3 separate regions of the Homo sapiens genome follow, and regions 1 and 2 are each linked to region 3. Evidence: promoter capture Hi-C in 16 types of primary human blood cells and fetal thymus (Javierre and others, 2016). All regions are on one chromosome and are shown on one strand. Each heading gives the region's core, a stretch centred on a gene start or on the middle of the fragment in contact. The rest is flanking DNA. Distances are from core to core; before and after follow the strand shown. Region 1 has its middle 6.8 kb from the start of LINC00615. Region 2 overlaps LINC00615 (long intergenic non-protein coding RNA 615). Region 3 holds the start of ATP2B1 (ATPase plasma membrane Ca2+ transporting 1).

Region 1 (4,219 bases), core at 60-2,559, 1.2 Mb before region 3:
ATGTCAATCGAGAGACCAGTTGGAGGTAATTGAATCATGGGGGCTGTTTACCCCATGATGTTTTCATAATTGTGAGTGAGTTATTATGAGATCTGATGGTTTTATAATGGGCTCTTCCCCCTTCACTCAGCAATTCTCCTTCCTGCCACCTTGTGAAGAAATTGCCTTGCTTCCCCTTCACCTTCCACCATGATCATAAGTTTCCTGAGGCCTCTCAAGCCATGCTGACCTGTGAATTAATTACCTCTTTCCTTCATAAATTACCCAGTCTCAGGCAGTTCTTTATAGCAGTATAAAAATAGACTAATACACGGCTTCAACATATGAATTTTGGAGAGACACAAACATACAGTCCACAACACAAGCCCACACACTAATCCTTAGGGAAAATAAAACATAATGAAGATCTAAACAATGAGATATTTGTGCCCTCTATTTTCAACTGGTCATTGCCACTGCCTGGTTCTCTTTTATTCATGTCTTCTTCATTCCCCAGTGAATTTTCCATACATTCCATTCCATGTCTTCGAAAGCACCATCGGAAGTTCTCATTTTCGTGACTCCTTGGATCTTTATAGTTGATATTTAGATCTGTTTTATAAAGATGGGATTATTTGGCACATGCAGTCAACACTGAGACTTTTGATGGTACTTTATAAAATAAAGGAGTGTGGGACTAGAATGCATGTCTCACTACAAGATTCTAACTGGTGGTCATAGTGTGGGAAACAAGGATCATGACTCCAGTGCAGTTCATAAAGGCCTTGAGAGCTTTCAGCTCAGGCTCCAAGACAGTAAAAGTATTCTAGGCCATCAGTTCATTGAAATGGGTTTGGAGGGTAAAATAGATCCACCTTCAGGGACTTGAGAATCTCAAAAGCCATAGCATGGGGACTTGACAACATGGGATGGGGACCAAGGAAAGGAAGTTTCATTACTGATATCCAGAGAAAGTGACTGCATTGTTAAGCACAGACTGAACAAAATATAAGGCTCAGAAGCAAGAATAGTCTTGATGCCAAATAAAGTTTTTTGGGAACACAATCTTGGAGCTAAACCAGTCCAGGAGGTAGGGGGCGAATTAGATCCACTATAAGAATAGAAATAATCCTGTGATGGGAGCTAGTAGGAGAGATGATAAGAGTGGAGCAATAAAGAGCATGAAGCCAAACGGCATCTGGGCATGGATTCTTTTATCCTCTTTTCCGCATGTCTTCACACCAACATATATTTGTATCTTCTTCAAAATTTTCTTCAGATTCTCAAGAGAAATATTCTCTAGAGATAACAGTTTAATGTTATCTTTTATATACAAGCACAAACTTTGATCTTCAAGAGTCCATGGAGGTTTTTTAAAAATATTTTTATTTTCTCTGCTTAAGAGCTGTGTCTTACACTGGCACAAATTCATTATGATCTCAGTTATCCACATATGATATTTTAAGTGTCAGATTCCAAAGAAGAAGACCACCACAATTTTACAGAACATGCCATCATAAAATCGTCGTTGTTAGTGACTTAGGATGAGTGAGGAGGGTCTCAATTTAGATTCATTAATAGCTTTTATCCTGAGAACTGCTGCGATTTTATATAATTTTCCTGTTTTGTTTGATTTTCAATATTGCACACAATTCACTTGGGTTAGAGTTTCAAAACCACTTAGGAAATTAAGAGGCTTTTTGGAAAATAATTAATAGTAAAATAAGATCAAAATTGTAGGGTGATGTTTCATCTCTAGCAACTGAGGCTTAACATCTAGTACATAAGTAACCTTCATTTGTATAACCCACAATATTCTATTAAGAAAAATATAGATAGCCATTACACCCAGACTGTGAACCAAACAAACCTCTTTAAACTTTTTTAAAAATTTATCTACATTTTAGGGGTATACATGCAGCTTTGTTACATGGATATACTGAATAGTGGTGAAGTCTGAGCTTTTAGTGTATCAGCCACTCAGATAATGTATATTGTATCCATTAAGAAGTTTCTCATCATCCACTCCCCTCTCACTCCCACAATCTTCCAAGTCTCCAATGTCTATTATTCCACACTCTGGTGTACACATTATTTAGATCCCAGTCATAGGTGAAACATGCAGTCTTTATCTGTTTCTGAGTTGTTTCACTTAGATAATGGCCTCCGATTCCATCCATGTTGCTCAAAAGACATGATTTCATTCTTTCCTGTGGCTGAGTAGTATTCTATTGTGTACATAGGCCACATTTTCTTTATCTAATCCGTCGATGGACACTTAGATTTGTTGATTACATATCTTTGCTATTGTGAATAGTGCCACAATAAATGATAAACATACACACACCTTTTTCATATGCTGACTTGTTTTTTTCCTTTGGAAGATGTTGAGTAGTAAGATTGCTGGATCCAATGATAGTTCTATTTTTAGTTCTTTGTGAAATCTCCATACTGTTTTCCATGGAGGCTGTAGTAATTACATTCTCACCAACAGTAAGTAAATTTTCTTCTTCTCTGCATCCTCGCCAGTGTATGTTTTTTTTTTTTTTTTTCATTTTGGCTGTTGTAATGTGATATCACCTTATGGTTTTAATTTGCATTTATCTGATGATTACTAATGTTGAGAATTTTTTTGTATATGCTTGTTGGATCTTTGTATGTTTTCTTTTGAATGTCTGCTCATGTTCTTTACCTGCTTTTTAACAGAGTTGTTTTTTGTTGTCATTGGGTAGATTTCCTTATAAATTATGGATATTCGTGTTCTGTTGAATGCATAGTTTGCAAATATTTTCTCCCTTTCTGAAGGTTGTTTGTTCCCTCTGTTATTTTGTTTGCTGTGCAGAAGCTTTTTAGTTTAATTAAGTCACTTTTGTCTATTTTTGTTGCTTGTGTTTTTGAGGTCTTAGTTGTGAATTATTTACCTAGACCAATGTGCAGAAGAGTTTCTCATAGAAACTAGAGTTTCTTCTAGTACTTAGACAGGTTTTAGTCTTACATTTAACTTTTTAATCCATCTTGGGTTAATTTTTGTATATGTTGTGTGAGAGAAAGGCCCAGTTTTATTCCTCTGCATATGTCAATTCAATTTTCCCAGGACCATTTATTGAATAGGGTGTCCATTCTTCAGTGCATGTTTTTGTCAGCTCTGTCAAAGATCAGTGGGTAACACATACGTGGTTTTATTTCTGGGTTCTCTATTCTGTTCCACTGATCTATGTGTCTATTTTTATATCAGTACTATGTTGTTTTGATTACTAGAACTTTGTGGCATAATTTGAATTCAGATAATGTGATGTCTCCAGCTTTGTTCTTTTTGCTAAGAATTGCTTTGGCTATTTGGGCTCTTTTTTGGTTCCGTGTTAATTTAAAAATAGCTTTTTCTAGTTCTGTAATAAATAAAATTGGTATTTTGATAACAATTGTATTGAATTTATAGATTGCTTTGGGCAGTATGGTCATCTTAAATATATATGTATATATGGTCTAGAGGTCCCTGTTGATCTTACAGCTCATGAAGCCAGCTTTTGAGAAGCATTTAATTATGTTCCAGGTATTGGTAGACCTGAGGTGATACTGCAGGGAAGTATCCCAAGGGAAAATCAAAGGTGGCATGAATTTGACATTATATCTGACTCATACCTGAATGCAGGTGGTTTGAAGTCTGAAAATACTGAAAATGAGTGACTGCTGAGTTTGACATCCCTATTCACGTGATGATAAGGCAGTCCTCTAATGAGAACTTTGCTCCCACACAGCTCCTGGGCATCCAGATAACTCTTCATTGCCTGATACCTGCTGTACTTCATCTTCACTCGAGTTTGTTCTCTAAGCTTGTGGCTCCTGCCTGGCGTGTGGGCTTTTCTCCTTGTTCTTCCTTTCTTCCCAGAGTGTTGTGGATTTTCTATACACAATGCCTTTTTATGCTTCCATACGAAAGCCCTCTTCTTTCTTTTTTCTCACGTGGTTCTTTGTGAGCAATAAAGTGTATCCCATTTATCCAAACTTCAACCCCTATTATTAGCAGCAAAACTGCTGCATGTTCCACTCCCACTAGAGGGCAGTGAGACCTGAATCTTCCTAAAGAAAATTGCTTGGTATCCATGTGGATAGCCATGGGACGTTGAGGCTGCTTTAATCAGAGGCTTATTCTAGAAAGGGTTTCAGAAAAGGTGTGGAGGATGGTAGGGAGTACGGAGCAGATGCAGTATAAACCTTCCTCAATTTGGAGAAATAATTTATT
Region 2 (3,997 bases), core at 79-2,578, 1.2 Mb before region 3:
CAACATGGAGAAACCCCATCCTATCAAAAAAAGTAATGTTTGTTATCTGAGGCATTGTAACCCATGGCTGTGGTCTCAGCTACTCGGAAGGCTGAGGTGGAAGGATGGCTTGAGCCCAGGAGATGGTGGAGGTTGCAGTGAGCAGAGATGAAGCCACTGCACTCCAGCCTGGGTGACAGAGCAAGATGCTTACCTTGAAAAAAAAAAAAGGAAGGCTTTTGTTTTTGACCACAGATTCCACCAACTGGTCCTAGTTTTGCACTATAGGAAAATAAACAAAGGTATTATATTTCAAACACAAAAAGGACTTGGCTGTATTTGGACTATCTTTTGGAGAAGCTCCCCTACTTATTTACACCATTGTTCATGTTACATAGGTTTTGACTTACCTTCTTTCTAGGCTGCTTGTTTCATTCTAAATCTATTTCTTTTTCTTTTTTGGATGTTGCTTTTAGAATGGTTATTCTCAACTTAAGACACTAATCACATACTATCCATGCACTCTTCTCATGAGCTGGACACTGTGTTTCTATCTAGCTATTAACCTTGTGCTGCCTAAATTCAATACTGTGATTTCAATAAATAAATACAATGCAATATTTAGTGAAGCATAGACAGTACCAAGAGTTGTAATAAAATTTTAATGATTACTGCATGTTCTCTTACTTTTTGATTTCTTTCAAATTCTATTGGTGATATTTTATTATCCCAGGAAGGTTATTTTGTGTAAACTTTTAACACCTAAGACTAGAAATCCACATTTCTCTTTAAAAATTTAGATTTGACATTAACTGGCATTTTTAGCTGTTATTTAAGCTATTAATATTGGCATCTCCTGATGGTTTCAGAGGGCATTTGAAATTTTTATAATGATTGATAGTTCTGTTATCATGCATTATTTGTGTATCCTCTCCTAAATATATTTAGATTTTTAGCATGTCAGTTTTAGGCCTAGTAATTTAAGACTCTTAACTGGTGTTAATTTACCATTTATCACAAAAATTTCTATTAGACTACACATTTCATATGACATTTATCATTAAATAGTACCACCAAAAGCAGAATTTTAATGCTGCCATATATAATTACAGTTCTTATTTTTTATTAATTTTTATTGATTGCAGAATTTCCTTGAACTGGGAGATTATAATATAGGATGGCAAGCTGAGGTCAAGACTAAGTGGCTGTATATGTTCCCCTGGCAACCCCCAGTGGATTTTTCCAAAATCAATGTTCATCATTTTTTTAAAAAGAATAATGAGTATTTAATGTTTTCCCCTAGTCTTAAAAAAATTTTGTGAATTCTACATTATTTCCTGAACAAATATTTAAATACAAAACAAATTTAATAAAATGGCTTACTTTTCTCTCCTTCACTGTCTATATTGCCTTCTTATGTAGAACTTATGCTCCACAACTATTAATATATAGGTGCCACCTAGTGGCAAAGGCAAAACATTTAAATGTAAGCTAATGATAGATGAGCTGTTGTACTATATTCACAGATGCATTTTTTAGAACACATAATACATTAATACAAATGCAAAAAGAGTACTGTAATGGTATTGTGACAAAGCACCGTATTAAGATAGATATTTAAATTATTTATTTGAATATGCTGCTATACGGCTTGGTGTTTAAAAGTTAGTATCTTTTTGAACTATAAGACTAAGCCATAAACATAAATTACCAAAGTGTGTGAAGGAAAGGGGGAAAACATTGGCCCAGAAGAATCCTTGTATGTCTGTGGATTATTATTTTGATAAAGTTATAATAATTTTATTCCATGAATCATATTTTATCTGAAGGTGTTTCTACAATACTTCTGTCTATTCAAATTCCTTTTGACAGTAACACCACTAATTAACATTCACAATCTGCACTGACAGTGTATTTGTTTTCCTTTAAATAGTGACAATAAACAAGACAATTATCAAATTTGAAATTGCTAAACTAAATAATGCTTAACACTTTAATCTCAAGCAATAAAAATGAGAGTATGTATCCATTGGCCTGGTAGTGAAAGCAGGACTTGTGATAGTCAATCACCTCCTGGGACTCAAACATGGTGTAATGATCATGGCCACTAATTAGAGTACATCTTGTTAGGGAAAGAAACAAACTTGCTTGTTTGTTGGTCTGGCACCCAGAAGATAATTAATATTTTTATTGCTGCCTGATTCCCAGCTCTTTCCAGCTGCTATCTAGGTCTAGTGGGAGCACAAATCAATGCTACGAGCAGGCTCTGCCTTAGCCTGAGAGATAGTTTCTGCCTTTACAACTGCCTTAGTGATGCATTCATCAGTTCTTCCACAGCGCTTCTAGAAAGAGGTGCTCTGTACTTCTTGCTTTGTACTTCCTTAACACTTCACTTTATTGATACTTCCATTATCCTTTCTAAATTATCGTTAATTACCTGTGGTTCTCTTCTGTCTAAAAAAGGTTATAGGTCAAGGAATTGATCATCTTTCTACTTCCAGTGCACAATCTTGCACATAAGAAGCCCTTAATACATAATTTCAATATTTAAAAAAAGAATAAAATAAAAATAAATCTATGAAATGATCTATGATTCTTAGGTAGTTCCAACAGAGAAGCATAATTACTTATCCATGTGTGTACTAAAACCTACTTCATTAGGAAAGCAGAAGAAAGAGTAAGTAGAGACTCAGCCACATCTCTTGTGCTCTAAACTGTGTGGTATAATAGCCCTGTCCTCATGCATAGATTTGCACAGGAACTGAACACAAAATTTTTTAATGTAACAAGAAGCTCTTGGTTCCAACTTGCTGGGCCACAGAATCACCATGAGTATAAACCATCTTAAAAATGCTCATGGCAATGTTCCTGTTTCTAAAAGGCACATGAAAATACATTTTTAGATTATTATAATTTTACAATTTGGAGTACCTGGTGAAGCTTAACGTAGCCAACACTTATTTTATTCTGTTTCACTTTGCTGAGTGTTTACCTTGTGTAGGACCTGTGCTAAGAACATATGCTTAGTTTAGCAGTGAGAAAGCCAATGCTAAGAGCTCTTGACCAAGTTACCCAGGATCCCACAGCTAATAGGTGACAGAGGTTGGAAACCACATAGTCTGTTTCCTTATATCATTAAGTCCACTCTGAAATGGATGGGAGTGTGATGAAATCTTAGATTCAGTTCAGATTATTCAAGGACATAACTTTGAGTCAATAGCCAAAGCCAAACTTTTGCAGTCATACCGCATATTGTAATGCTGTCCTGGAAAAAGTGCTGAGTCTCAGTAATTGATGTCCAAAAGTTCTGTGATAAATTATTTATGTGATGAGACATTTTAAAGAGAGTAAAGAAGCAGAGTGCAAAACTGTGCTAGAATATTCACATCATTAAAACTGTTCCCTGGCCCCTTTTCCCTTTCTTCTAAGGTGAAAGTATAAAGTTCACTCTGATTGCAGAATTCTTAATTCTCTAAATTAGGAATCAGCCTTTACTAATGGAAGTAGGTAGAAATGGAAAACTGCTAGCTACTGGCAGGAGAAGAGCCCAAGAGCTGCTATGTGGCAGTCACAATTAGGAAAAAAATAAAATACAGTATAAAAGCAAAGTAATAGCACTATCTGGAGGTCTGTTGAAAGAAAATGGATATAATGAAGAATGAAAGTTAAAGGTTGAAAAGATTTGCCATGAAAGTATCACATTTCAGGGCAGGCAAAAATCTAAATAAACAATATGGATTAGATTTAGTGAGAAATAAGAACTCGTCTAAGAACACTATTATAGGTAAGATATTATAACTCCTATTTCACTAAAAGTACCATCAGATTCAGCTAGAAGTAAAGGAAAAGACAGAGAGTTTAAATGTTGGTGTACCTTAAAACATATTCACCTTGCAAAGTGAAGATAATTAGTGCTTCTTGAATTTAGCGTAGCTAAGGAATGTTACAGATGGATTGCCAAATAATTTAAATGATTTTAATAAGCAGGGATAAAATATCAAGTTTACTTATCCAGGTA
Region 3 (3,663 bases), core at 152-2,651:
TGCGTTAACCCTTTGGGCGCCGCAGCTGGGATCCCCGGTGTTTGCGGACCCGACCGGCAGGAACAGAGATGGAGTGTCCCGCGCCCGCATGGGGAGTGAGCTCTCTTCCCCAAAGAGGGAGCGAGCCGAGAAGCACTTTTTCCTCCGGTGCGTGCGTCACGGCCCGGGACAGGCGTCGAGTCCGGTTTGGAGTGGGGGCAGAGACGCGGCGAGGAGCCGCTCAAATGTCCGCTGACTGGGGGTTCGCCTTAATCTGTCCTCGCCAGGAGCGCTCGCCCTCGCCCTCCCGCTGGCTCGCTCCTGGGCCCTGGAGGGGCATGGGCCCGGGGGCGGTTCGGGAGGGGCCCCAGGTGAAGGGCGCCCGCACTTCTCCTGCGGCAATCATCGCTCTCCTGCCTCCACACGTCGCGGCAGCGGCCCGGCCCCGCGCCGAAACAGCAGCTGTGACTGACGGAGTCACCTCCCCGCGCGCCTGGCCACCCCCTCCTCCCCCGCCGCTCCCTCCTGCACCAACACGTCATGGAAACACGGACGTCAGAGCCTCTCAGCCAATCGCAGGCTGCGGCAGGAGGGAAGGGGCGCGCTGGAGGGGGCGGGGGCAGCGGCAAGCCAAGGCGCTCAGGGGAAGGAAGAAAGGGAGGGGCGTGCGGAGGCGCAAGTCCCCACCTCCGCCCCTCACTCCGGCCACCCTTTCCCGACCGCGCGGCAAGTTCTAATCGCCAGGCGCGCGCTCGCCAGCCGAGGGCGCGCTCGCCGGGTCCTCCCCTTAAACGCCCTCCCAGTGCCGCTCAGCTCCCAGTCCCGGTCCGAGCCGCGGTTCCTCCGCGCGCGCGCGCGCGCACTCGCCCGCCCCCAGGCTCCCCGCGGATCGCGTCACGTGACCGCGCTCAGCCAAGGCGGCAGCGGCGGCGGCGCGAGCTTCGGCGGCGGTGGCGGCTGTGGCAGCGGGAGCAGCTGCGCCGCCAGCGTGGAGCGGGAGGCGTGTGGGTGTGGAGAAAAGGGAGCGCCAGACCGGAACGGGTGAGCGTTCTCCTCCCCCTGCCTACCCCGGCAATCTTGCAGGCCACCCGGTGCAGACGGGGTCCCTGCCCGGAGCTGCGCGCAGCCCCCTCGTGCTCGGCCGTCCGCTCTCCGGTGCCCGCGGGCCCCGCCCCGAGTGGGGCGGGCTGCGGCGCTCACGGAGGTGGCTGCACCCCGCCCGCGGCTGCTGTTGCGGACGGCGGCGTGAGGCCGGCTGAGCTGCCCGTGCCGAGCGAGCGCGGCGCGCCCTGTGTGCCGCTCTGCGGAGCCGAGGAGGCGGGTCCTGCGGGGACGCGGGCGGCCACTCGGTGGCTGCCGGGCTCTGGGCGGGGACGGCCGGGCGCCGCCTCCTCCTCCTTCGCTGCCGCCGCCGCCTCCTCGCAGTGCAGCGTGAGTAGGGAGCCCCGGCTGGTGGACGCCGAGCCTCTCGGCTCCTTGGCCGCCCCATCCCCGAGGTGCAGCTGCACCTCCGCGTGGCGCCCCGAGCCCTGCGAGCCGGCTGCGGACGCGCTGAGGACGGAGCCCCCATCCTCTGCGTTTCCCGCTGCCCCTTAACGCCCCGCGACCCTCCCGCAGCCTGCCTTTCCTTCCCCCTCGGAAAATGGTTCCCACTGCCGGGCGAGGTGAGTGGCGGCCGCCGCCCGCCCGCGGCCGGGGGCGGCGGGGCAGGTCACCTGCGGGGGAGGCCAGGCGGAGCACGGAGGTCGGGCGTCGCGGCGGGGATCCTGATAGCTGGGTGCGCAGCGGGTTGCGCCGGATTCGGGAGAAGCTGACGGGGGCGGTCGGGGCCCCTCGCAGGTTGCCTCTTGCCGGGAGATTGTGAAGGTGAGCGGGCTTCTCGCCGTGCACCTCAGCGCCGGGTCAGTCTGGGAGTCGCTGCTCCGGGCCCGAGGGATGGGGCTTGTTGGGGCTTCTGGTCTACACCCGCAGGTCTTCGGCTTCACGAAGCCGCCTCGGCCGCGCCACAGCCCATCCCGCCACCGGTCGCCCCCGCCACGGCGCGTGGTGACCTTGAGGGCACCGTGCCCGGCACTCCCTCTCCCCGCGCCCCGGGAGGGTCACCCCTCTAATCCTTGGCCTCGGCCCCCCAGACGCACTGCGGGAGGGGAGCGGGGGCCCCTGGTCGGCCCCTGGCCCTGGTGGTTGATTGTTGGCGTGTCAGGACGGTGATTCCTCGGGAGTTGGAGAGCCGCCTGGTCTTTCTCCTCACGCCTTCCGTCTGGCCCCCCAGGATGTTCACAGTTGTTTCCGATTCGTGTTTATTCACTTAGTTTAAGAGAAAAAAGCCTGCGCCCCCACCTCCCTTTTTGAGGAAGGAGTCTGTAGGAGGACCGCGTTCCAGTGGCAGGGGTGTGGGGTGGGGGCTGTGCTCTCTTTATCCCATCCTGCGGGAGAATCCTGTGGCTAAGCTGGTTAGCGACCCCTGGTTCTGCGCCGCGGTCACCAGCCAGGTTGGTCTCTGTGCGCATTTCATTCACCAGTTTTCTGCGGGACTCGCAGCGCTGGGAGTGCTCGCACCCTGTGCGCTGCTTGGCTCGGAGGGGAGGGCAGGGCGTCCGGGTGGGTTAAAGGGGTCTGCAGGTACTTGGAGGGCTCGACCCTCCTCGACAGGCTGATATTTACCTTTTCTTTGGGTTAGAGCGCTGCAGACAGCCACCTTTCGCTTCTGTGCCCGCTACTTTTCTTGGTTTATTAATAATCTAATGGCTTCTGTTGGTATCGATTGCTGTTCGTGATAAATTAGCTACATAGATTTTTTTCATACGTGTGTAGGTATATGCATATATCTGAACTTGTCTGCCTGTCAACATGGAAGCCTTTGTTGTGTTTAACCTCCCCCACCTGAGGACAGTCTTATTTTAAAATAAGGCTTTTGTTCAGCGTGGGTGTATTTTATAATAAGAAGTACTTGTAAGGGCCTGGTTTGTATGAGGCTCTCATCTGGCAGAGGGTGTGTAACCCTTTGGATGGTGGCCCACGTGAGTGAATGGAGGGCCTTCACCACTTGCCCCGATGCCAGCCTTCCCGAGACTCCCTGTCCTTGTGTGTGGCAGGGGTGGATTGGGGGAATTAAGAGGGATTGGAGGAGAATCTGCTTTTTGTACTTGTGCGTTTCATTTGGGTCCTCCTCCTCCCCTCTCTTTTTCTTTATCCTCCTGGTGAGTTCAAATTTGAAGTAAATAGAAACATTTTTTTTTTAATTGGGAACCTTTGATAGCTAGTATATGAAATGGGCTTATTTAGCTATGATTTCAGGAGGACGTTTTAGTTTTTACCTTGCTTTAGATAAGACAGCTAAATTGCTGTAATTAAGGGTGGATCTCTGTCCTGATTTTGGCTTGGGTGTAACTGCAAAGATCTTTGAAAAGTAACTGTTAATTTCCTACCATATAGTCTGCAAAAGTGAGTCACATTCGGGTGAGTTGAGGACAGAGCGCCACCTTTAATTTAAAATTTCGTGATTTTCTTTTATTAAAATGGTGAAAATTCGGGGTACGCCTTCTTGATTTTTATCGCAGCTGTCATTATTGGCATCCCCATTTTGACGTGTAAGGGGGAATTGTCTTCATTTTTCTGTATTCTCTCATTTCTCTTTTGAGAGAAATTTCTGCAATTGTATGGGAAATCTTTTTTTTATTGAAG

What was found. Contacts are between HindIII fragments. The CHiCAGO score rates a contact against its expected background, and 5 or more counts as called.
Region 1: a contact is called between a fragment that was not itself captured here and the fragment with the promoter of ATP2B1 in region 3, in 1 of 17 cell types (endothelial precursors). The highest score is 5.1, in endothelial precursors.
Region 2: a fragment that was not itself captured here is called in contact with the fragment with the promoter of ATP2B1 in region 3 in 1 of 17 cell types (endothelial precursors); the score reaches 5.2 in endothelial precursors.

Annotation. Positions count from the first base shown.
Region 1 is chr12:90,909,074-90,913,292 of GRCh38, reverse strand. No RefSeq gene overlaps it. Among named protein-coding and RNA genes, the nearest start is that of LINC00615, 6.8 kb to the left of the region's middle. The HindIII fragment of the contact is 3,035 bases long and covers 1-2,826 here.
Region 2 is chr12:90,942,688-90,946,684 of GRCh38, reverse strand. LINC00615 (long intergenic non-protein coding RNA 615) reads right to left here. Exons shown (of 5, transcript NR_038868.1): 4 at 194-261. Among named protein-coding and RNA genes, the nearest start is that of CCER1, 10 kb to the left of the region's middle. The HindIII fragment of the contact is 3,186 bases long and covers 1-2,921 here.
Region 3 is chr12:89,706,576-89,710,238 of GRCh38, reverse strand. ATP2B1 (ATPase plasma membrane Ca2+ transporting 1) reads left to right here and starts at 1,401. Exons shown (of 21, transcript NM_001366521.1): 1 at 1,401-1,643. It overlaps ATP2B1-AS1 (ATP2B1 antisense RNA 1), which reads right to left and starts at 1,284. Exons shown (of 1, transcript NR_028138.1): 1 at 1-1,284. RefSeq lists silencers at 163-712, 733-1,752, 1,903-2,132 and enhancers at 2,323-2,422, 2,433-2,522. The HindIII fragment of the contact is 7,681 bases long and covers 1-3,663 here.